Regions from separate parts of the Homo sapiens genome. Here regions 2 and 3 are each linked to region 1. Evidence: promoter capture Hi-C in human tissues and cell types (Jung and others, 2019). All regions are on one chromosome and are shown on one strand. Each heading gives the region's core, a stretch centred on a gene start or on the middle of the fragment in contact. The rest is flanking DNA. Distances are from core to core; before and after follow the strand shown.

Region 1 (2,987 bases), core at 448-2,947:
CCTGGGATTGCACCTGGCCTATTACTTGTTTTGTTTGGCTAGCACTTTGAATCAATTTTAAATTTGAATCAATTTTAAAATTGAAATAGCCCACAATGTCCTTTTAGGGACCAAAATACTTGACAACACTGAGCCCAATTCCAGTTGAAGAGCAACTGACTAGCGCTGAGCAGCCCTGATGGTTTCAGCCAGGTCTGTTCTATCCAAGCGGAGTTCCCCCACCAGACCTTATGGTCTCTAATTGAAACACTTTCAGTTGCCATTTATCATAGCATTTGCTCTTTTGTTTTAAAATATTTCTCTATAATCAGGCTTCTATCGAAAGCAGGAAAACTACAGGGCGACTTGGGACTGCATGCTTGACGGGAAAAAAAAGCAGCATTAATTCTCAGTGGGAGGCTGGGCGCCGTGGCTCATGCCTGTAATCTCAGCACTTTGCAAGGCCGAGGGAGAATCACTTGAGCCCTGGAGTTCGAGACCAGCCTGGGCAACATGGTGAAACCCTGTCTCTACGAAAAATACAAAAAATTAGCTGGGTGTGATGGAACGCACCTGTAGCCCCAGCTATTTGGGGCTGAGGTGGGAGGACCACCTGAGCCAGGGAGGTCGAGGCTACAGTGAGCCGAGACCGTGCCGCTGCACTCCAGCCTGGGGGACGGAGTGAGACCCTGTCAAGAAATTTTAAAAATTAAAAAATAAATAAAATCAGTGGGAGTGAGAATTTCTACGAACTTAATATAAAAATAACTTAAAAACAACTTAAAACACCATTGCGCCGGGCGCGGTGACTGGCGCCTGTAATCCCTGCACTTTGGGAGACCGAGGCGGGCGGATCACGAGGTCAGGAGATCGAGACCATCTTGGCTAACACGGTGAAACCCTGTCTCTACTAAAAATACAAAAAAATTAGCCGGGCGTGGTGGCGGGCGTCTGTAGTCCCAGCTACTAAGGAGGCTGAGGTAGGAGAATGGCGTGAACCCGGGAGGCGGAGCTTGCAGTGAGCCGAAATCGGCGCCACTGCACTCCAACCTGGGCGACAGAGTGAGACTGTCTCAAAAAAAAAAAAAAAGAAACGCCATTGCAAAACCTTGAGAATGGTTTTAACTGGAAAAAATGTATGATGAACAATTTAACTGAAAAATAAATACAATTTTAACACGGTTTGTTTTTGAAAGCGAATGTGACGTTGCATTCTTCATACAGTGAAAAGGCTGCTTCTCGCCCTTTCGTTACCTGCCCAGTCCGAATTGACTCCTGAGACCTAATCAGGCGCATCTCTATATGGCCAGCATTATCCCTGGGCTGCCTAAATAGTTCGCGTTAAACACAAACAACAACAATAAAATCTAAATAACACTCAGTCTTAGTACCATTATTACAAAAGCGTGAGGGGCGAAAAGATTAAAAATGAACATCAACTTCGGTAGAGATGGAAAAAGACTGCCCACTCCATTCCAGGAAAGAAAAAAGAAAGTGGGAGAATCTGATCACGACGGGCTGAGGTCCTGTGAGAGCAAAGCAGATTCCAAACCGCTTAGGGTTGCTAAATCAAGTGGTAAAACGTGGCCCCTTGCGGCGCGGTGAGATTAACGGACCCGGCGGGCCCAGAGCCTGCCTCGGGTCCTAAAGGGATCCGCCCCGCCGAGTCAGCCACGCCTTCGTCTCCCACGCGCTGCGCCCGGCCGCGCCGTCACCCAGCAGCGGCGCAGGGCACCATGGGAAACGGACGGAAGCTCCATTGAGCCAAATAAGTTGGTGAGAAGGTTCCCGACGCGGCGATGGCGAGAAGCAGAGAAATGGACCTGGGGAGGGGCGTGCGGGGTGCGGTAGGGTTGGATGGAAGCCTTGGCGGGCCAAAACCACTGCGGCTTCAAAATCCGGATGCGCCGGTATTTGAGGCGGAGGCGGGGCTGTGGGGGGAGGAGGGAGGCTATGGCGCTCAGAGCACTGTGGGACACTGTAGGCCACGTGGGGCGGAACGGAAACCTCGCAGGGTCAGACCGTAGCGACGCGGGAAGTCCGGACGCAGTAGCTCCCTGAAGCGGAGGCGAAGGGGAGTTTAAGCCCCAGCGGCGGCAATGGCGGAGAGGCCCGAGGACCTAAACCTGCCCAATGCCGTGATCACCAGGATCATCAAGGAGGCGGTGAGCAGCTCGGGGGGGGCGGACGAACGGGCAGGAGGGAAGCAGGTGCTGGAACGGCAGCTTTGCTCACCCCCGGTCTCCTCGCAGCTCCCGGACGGTGTCAACATCTCCAAGGAGGCCCGGAGCGCCATCTCCCGCGCCGCCAGCGTCTTCGTGCTGTACGCCACATCCTGGTGAGCGGGACAGAGGCATAAGGGAGGCGCGGGGATACCTGGCTGGGAGTTGCTGGCTGGGAGCCTACAAACCCCAACGATTGTGTTCTCCCTCGGTGGGGACATGTTCACAGTCCTCTGCCAGTTTTTACAAGTTCTGAAGCAAAATAACACAACAAAATCACTTTGCTTTAGCTTTTTTGTGCAGAGAAGGGAAGGACTTATCCCTGTCACACCAAAATCCATACATGTAAGAGGCAGGCTTTCCCGTTCCACCTCTGGGTGCTCCTTTTCCCACTCACGCCTTACAAACAAGAGGGAGTCTGACAGCCTTTCTCTTCTCTCAGTGCTAACAACTTTGCAATGAAAGGAAAGCGGAAGACGCTGAATGCCAGTGATGTGCTCTCAGCCATGGAAGAGATGGAGTTCCAGCGGTTCGTTACCCCATTGAAAGAAGCTCTGGAAGGTAACGAGCCTCTTGTCTTCTAAACCACATAGAAGATGGTCATCCTGTGTGACCTGTTCACCAGGCCCTGAGCCTTCTCAGCGCGGGTCCCTTTAAGTCCAGTAAGCCAGCACTTGATGTGACTCGACCCAGTTCGGTGGGCACCACCTCAGATCTGTTTTGTAATGCTGAGCAAGTTATTTTTCCTTCTCTGCCTCCGTTTTTGTTTTTGTCTTGCTTTTCTTG
Region 2 (3,346 bases), core at 182-2,681, 210 kb after region 1:
CAAAAGGGATGAAAAGATGGAGAATTTAAAAAGTTAGAATCTATAAGAATAATCACATGGCAGTCTAGATTTGAAAAATACAATTTCTGAAACTAAGAACATATTGGATGGGTTTAACAGAGTCAGAATACAGCAGGAGACAGAATTAGTGACTTCGAAGGCAGTAACATAGAAAATATTCAGACTGAAGCACAGAGAGAAGAAATAATAGAAAGAGACCAGGGCAAAGATTGATGTGGGACATGGTCTAACGTCCATGTAATTGGAATCCAAAGACAGTAGAATTATATCTTTAAAGTACTGAAAGGAAAACAAAACCCTGCCTATTACAGAATTCTATAGCAACAAAAATATCCTTCAAAAATGAAGGCAAAATAAATTTTCAGCCAAACAAAAGTGAGAGAATTCATTGTAGTAGATTTGCACTACAAGGAACATTAAAGGACATTCTTTAAGTTGAGGGAAACGAATGTCTGTGTCTTTCAAAAGACATGGAGAGGCTGGGCGCGGTGGCTTACGCCTGCAATCCCAGCACTTTGGAAAGCCAAGGCTGAGGTCGGGAGTTCAAGGCCAGCCTGACCAACATGGAGAAACCCCGTGTCTACTAAAAATACAAAAAAATTAGCCAGGTGTGATGGCACATGCCTGTAATCCCAGCTACTTGGGAGGCTGGGGCAGGAGAATTGCTTGAACCTGGGAGGTGGAGGTTGCGGTAAGCTGAGATCATGCCATTGCACTCCAGCCTGGGCAACAAGAGTGAAACGTCATCTCAAAAAAAAATGACGTGGAGAATGTTCATAGAAGTATCATTCATAATAGCCTCTAGCTGGAAACAACTCAAATGTTCATAAACAGGAGAATGAATGAAGAGTTTATGGTATATTCACATAATAGAATACTACATGACAATAAAAGAGAATAAAGTCCTGGAACATGAAGTATCAAGGCTTACTCTTATAGATACGGTGAGTGAAAGAAGCAAGACAAAAGAGTATACTCTGTATAATCCTATTTATACAAATTTAAGAATAGCAAAATTGTCTGGGTGCGGTGGCTCACACCTGTAATCTCAGCACTTTGGGAGGCCAAGGTGGGCGGATCACCTGAGGTCAGGAGTTCAAGACCAGCCTGGCCAACATGGTGAAACCTGGTCTCTACTAAAAATACAAAATTAGTAGGGTGTGGTGGCGTGCACCTGTAGTCTCAGCTGCTCGGGAGCCTGAGGCAGGAGAATTGCTTGAACCCGGGAGGCAGTGGTTGCAGTGAGCCGAGATTGCGCCACTGCACTCCAGCCTGGGCGACAGAGAGACTCTGTCTCAAAAAGAAAAAAAAAAAAAGCAAAATTAATCAGCGACAGAAGTCAGAATATTGGTTATCTCAGGGTGGGGATTATTGACTAGGAAGGGCATGAGGGAGCTTCCTGTGGTGTGGGAAATGCTCTGCTATTTTTTAAATCTGGTTGATGGTCACGTGGGCACATATATGTATAATGAACATGTATTTTATGTTTTTCATCAATTTAAAAACAATTTGTATTTTCTTTTACACAACCAGCCACTCTTAGTCACCCCTTGTATAAATGAAAACACCAACAAAATGAAGACATTGCCAATTACAGTTAAACAGTAAGACCAAAATGAGAAGAGATTAATGTGGATAGTGAGAAGATAAAATTTAAAGTTGAAGCCTTAAAGGATGAATAGATTTTGAGTTTAGTATGAAGCACAACCTTTGATACTTATTGCTGATTTTATATTGCTGATTTTATATTGCCTTTTAACTTCTGCTGTCTCTCTTTTTTTTTTTCTATCTGTCGTTGCTTGTCTACAGTATAGGATTCTTCTTTATATCAGTCAACAACAGCCAGTTACGGTTGCTAGGATTCATGTGAACTTTGAGCTAATGGTAAGACTTCATCATATTGGAATCATTAGCTCCTTCGGGATAGGTTTACAGGAGAGACTGGTCTGATTGTACCTAATAGAAATTAGATCCACTGGTTCAGCCCTGGGTGTCCTTGTGAGTATCTAACAGAACCTTTCAGAAAGGTCTCTTGGCTCCTTCTAGGAATGTGGACTGAAGGGTGAATCGTAGAGGGTGAGAGGGAAGAAGAAAGATCTCTGATAGTTCCCTTTGGGTCCACCTGAGTCAAGACCCTACTCTATGAGCTTAGGCCGTCATGTTTATCTGGTATAATACTGCTTGTGGATGAATTTAACATTTCTCCTTTCTCCAGGTTCGGCCCAATAACTATAGCACCTTTTATGATGACCAGAGACAGAACTGGTCCATCATGTTTGAGTCGGAAAAGGCTGCTGTGGAGTTCAATAAGCAGGTGATAACATCTTACTCTCCCTGTGAAAAGCCAAAATACTTGTTTGGATTTCCCTTAATTTTAGGGAAACATATAGAAAACCCATAATCTGCTGTGTTTTGTTAGTGACTAGCATAAAAAACCCACTAAATTTGCCACTTCGGCCTATTGTATGATTTCAGGAAAATAATAGGAATACTTACTGAAACTGCTTGACAATTTAGCCTTTTTCTTTTTTAACAGAGAAAGACTAAATGTAATCTTATTATATTAAAAAATTTTCTACTACATAAATTATCTTAAGGAATAAATAAAACTATCTTTAAAAAATAGTGTTTTCAAAGAATGTTTTAGGCTGGGTGTGGTGGTTCATGCCACGCTTGTAATCCCAGCATTTTGGGAGGCCGAGGCAGGTGGATCACTTGAGCCTAGGAGTTCAAGATCAGCCTGGGCAACATAGTGAAACCCCATCTGTACAAGAAAAGAAAGAAAGAGAGAGAAAGAGATAGAGAGAGCAAGAAAGAGAGTTAAGTTACTACATACTCATTGTAGAAAATTTAGAAAAGCATTAAAAAAAATCACTCATAGTCTTACTACTCAAAGTAACCACTATTAACATATTTCCTTTTTTCTATGCATAATATACATAAGTAGATACAGTCCTTTAATAGTTCTTTATCATGCTTATTTTATTTAAAAATGTATAATTCATCTTTTCCTACCTCATGAAAAACTATTTGGAAACATTTTTGAAGGCTGCATAATATGCATGTTGTCAGTTCAAGCTACCGTAACAAATTACCATAGTCTGGTTAAGCAACAGAAATTTATTTCTCACGGTTCTCGAGGCTGAAAGTCTGAGATCAGGGTGCCAGCACGGTCGGGTTTTAGTGAGACCCTCTTCTGGGTTGCAGACTATCTTCTTCTTGTATCCTCACATGGTAGAAAGAGGGTGAGAGAGTTCTCTGTATCTCTTTAATAAGGTCCCTAATCCCATTCATGAGGGCTCCACCCTCCTGGCTTACTTACTTC
Region 3 (3,198 bases), core at 205-2,704, 230 kb after region 1:
TATCTCATAGTGCATTATTATAACCCTTATCACAGTTTGATAAGCATGGTGTTTTGCTCATCTTTGTAAAGTCCTCTCCTCCATATTAGTGTTAGTTCAGTGCCTGGCAAGACATGGTGATTGGATAGAAGATTTGTGAAGACCAGCAGGTTGATTAATCTACCTTGGTTTATGGAAACAAATATGGAAGGCAGACATGGGACTAGTGGGCAGGGGGTAGCTGGAGCAGCAGCAGAGTTGGGTGGAAGCAAAGTTCATTTGCCTAATAGAGAACTAAAAAACAATGATGTCAATTGGTAAGGTGCTACCTTGAAGATACATCCCTTCCCTTTTATTTTTTTAAAAATTTTTTATATTTTGTAGAGACAGGAGTCTTACTATGTTGACCAGGCTGGTTGTGAACTCTTGACCTCAAGCCATCCTTCCGCCCTGTTCTCCCAAAGCGTTGGGATTAACAGGCATTGGCCATTGCTCCCAGCCCATCTCTTCCCTTTTAGAGCATGACTGGGCCCACATGAGGCAAATGTGTTAGACAGTCTTAGATTTGAATGTTGTTCAAATGTCTCATTTCTGCTTTTGTGGTGCCTTATGACAATTACCTCAAGAGTCATAAGAGTCTCAAAAGTTTCCCAAACAAATTTTATTTATTTCAAAGAGCTTTATTTGAGAAGGGATGCTTTGAAAGCAAATTCTTGGTAGAATGTCCCAGCTACCAAGAAAGTTGAGACTATCTTACTCAAGCAGTGAGAAAGAACCTGGACTAATACTAAACAATGATTGGTCCAGTGTGTTAAGATGGTGGCCAAAATGGACTTATGAGAGTTATCTGTTTCAAAGGTCATTTCTGACTGCTGGGAACATGTCCTTTCCATTTCGTATGTGGAGAAGGTGACATGTATACACAGAGATGACTTTCTATGGGATAAATATGGGTTGATGAGGGAGTCAGCTGACGGCTTGACAAATCTTATTGCTGGTCAGTGAGGTGATGTTGAAAGAAGTGAGCAGAGGCTGCTTGTGTGGTAGGATTGGGAAATCAAAGCACGCGGCTTTGAAAGAGCCACTGGGGCCAGGCGCAGGGGCTCACGCCTGTAATCCTAGCACTCTGGGAGGCTGAGGCAGGAGGACTGCTTGAGCCCAGGAGATGGAGGCTATAGTGAGCTATGATCACACCACTGCACTCCAGCCTGAGTGATGGAGCAAGGCTTTGTCTCCAAAAAATAATTTAAAAAAAGAGCTGCTGGGATAACACATAGCCCATTACAGCTTTGGTTCTGTAGCGAAGTCTCTCTGCTCCTGTATCCCAGAGCTCCAAGAAACCTCTGAGCAAGCACAGTCCAAATTCAAAAGTGAAAAGCAGAACCGGAAACAACTGGAACTCAAGGTGACATCCCTGGAGGAGGAACTGACTGACCTTCGAGTTGAGAAGGAGTCCTTGGAAAAGGTAAGCTCTACAACCCAGTTGGCCAGAATTAGCTGTTTAATAAACATTTTTATTTTCCTTTTACAAATTACAATAGTATGTGCTTATTGTAACAAATACAAATAATATAGAAAAGTGTAAAATTAAAAAAAAATTTTCCCCGCTCTAATCTCATACATTGAAGGTGACAGTTATAAAGTGTATGATCCTTCCAGATTGTTTTCTGTATGTAGAAAACATACATTCACACTCTCACACACATACATGTATGTATACTGACAACTTTTTTTACAGTAGTGGTATCACGTTTAATGTTTTTTAGGAAAATGTCATGGACTTGTACTACATAAGAAGGAGATCTTTCTCACTCGTAGTTAACTGCTGCATAGTAGCCTACTATGAGGCTGTACCATAATTTGTTTAATGATTTGCCTATCGATGGATATTTATGTTTTTATTTTTTCATTATTTTAAGCACTGCTTCTATGGACATTCTCATATTATATAACTGTTTTTGCAAATTTGTTTGAGCATTCCTACGTGATGGATTGCATGAGTAAGAATCATGGGATCAAAGGGAAGGCTACATATTTGAATTTTTATAAATATTACCAGGTTATCCTCAAAGAATAGTGCTTACACTTTCAGCAGTATGTGAGTGAGCCCATTTGTCACATTCTTCCCCACTCTACATATATCACTTTTTCTAATCTTCATTAGTCTGACAGGTGAAATATGTTATCTTGTTTTAATGTGTATTTTTATTAGTAGTAAAGCTTTCATATATTTAATACCTATTTGTATTTCTTATGTACATTCTCTCTTTAGTGTCCTTTATCCTTTTTCCTATTATTAGTTTGATTTGTAAACCCTTTTAAGGGTATCAATCCTTTGTCAGTCATAGATGTTGTAAATATTTTTCTAGCTTGCTGTCTTTTAACTTTATTTATAGTATCTTTTGTTGGTTAAAATTTTAATATCAGGAAATACTAAGTGAACAAAGTGAGAACATTTCTATCTTTTTGTCTGTTCTGGAATCGTTTAAATATGAAAATAATAAACTGCTCCTGAGGCTTCAGTAAATCTCATTAGGTAAAGCTGTTTTGGCCCAGTGCCTTTTAAGAGGGTAAATCTTGGTCTGCAATTGCATTTTTTTCCAGGATTTTTTCCATTTTATTTATTTATTTTTAACCAATTCCTTCTAACCTCTTGGCTGTTTTCAGTTTGTCATTACTATAGATACTACTACAGTGACCATCCTTGTAACACACTCTTTATGACTATGACTTATTGAATCCTTAATTACAATTTGTGGAATTTCTGGATACGTATGTTTTTAAAGGCTTTTCACAGGATTACTATCCAAAGAGAGTATATCCATTCGTTTTCTTACTATCAGGGTATGAGAATGTCTGATTTCCTGTACCTTTATTAAAGTTAGGATGTTCCCTAGCTCTTTTTTTTTTTTTTTTTTTTTTTTTTTTTTTTTTTTTCTGAGGCGGAGTCTCGCTCTGTCGCCCAGGATGGAGTGCAGTGGCGGGATCTCGGCTCACTGCAAGCTCCGCCTCCCGGGTTCATGCCATTCTCCTGCCTCAGCCTCCCAAGTAGCTGGGACTACAGGCGCCCGCCACTACGCCCGGCTAATTTTTTGTATTTTTTAGTAGAGACGGGGTTTCACCGTTTTAGCCGGGATGGTCTCGATCTCCTGACCTCGTGATCCGCCCGCCTCGGCCTCCCAATTTCCCTAGCTCTTAATAGAGGGGTAGATACAGCTC

What was found. The method cuts DNA at HindIII sites, captures the fragments that hold promoters and counts their contacts. A contact is called where the count stands out against the background at its distance.
Region 2: a contact is called between a fragment that was not itself captured here and the fragment with the promoter of POLE3 in region 1, in 1 of the 25 tissues and cell types used here (lymphoblastoid cells).
Region 3: a fragment that was not itself captured here is called in contact with the fragment with the promoter of POLE3 in region 1 in 1 of the 25 tissues and cell types used here (lymphoblastoid cells).

Annotation. Positions count from the first base shown.
Region 1 is chr9:113,409,385-113,412,371 of GRCh38, reverse strand. It overlaps POLE3 (DNA polymerase epsilon 3, accessory subunit), which reads left to right and starts at 1,697. Exons shown (of 5, transcript NM_017443.5): 1 at 1,697-1,755; 2 at 1,964-2,144; 3 at 2,232-2,317; 4 at 2,644-2,762. The coding sequence starts at 2,079. It overlaps C9orf43 (chromosome 9 open reading frame 43), which reads right to left and starts at 1,625. Exons shown (of 14, transcript NM_001278629.2): 1 at 1,371-1,625. RefSeq lists enhancers at 98-997, 1,616-1,805, 2,046-2,325, 1,898-2,797, 1,700-2,899. The HindIII fragment of the contact is 6,520 bases long and covers 1-2,987 here.
Region 2 is chr9:113,201,520-113,204,865 of GRCh38, reverse strand. FKBP15 (FKBP prolyl isomerase family member 15) reads left to right here. Exons shown (of 28, transcript NM_015258.2): 5 at 1,831-1,905; 6 at 2,237-2,335. Among named protein-coding and RNA genes, the nearest start is that of FKBP15, 18 kb to the left of the region's middle. The HindIII fragment of the contact is 9,656 bases long and covers 1-3,346 here.
Region 3 is chr9:113,174,783-113,177,980 of GRCh38, reverse strand. It overlaps FKBP15 (FKBP prolyl isomerase family member 15), which reads left to right. Exons shown (of 28, transcript NM_015258.2): 21 at 1,308-1,444. Among named protein-coding and RNA genes, the nearest start is that of SLC31A2, 25 kb to the right of the region's middle. The HindIII fragment of the contact is 4,829 bases long and covers 1-3,198 here.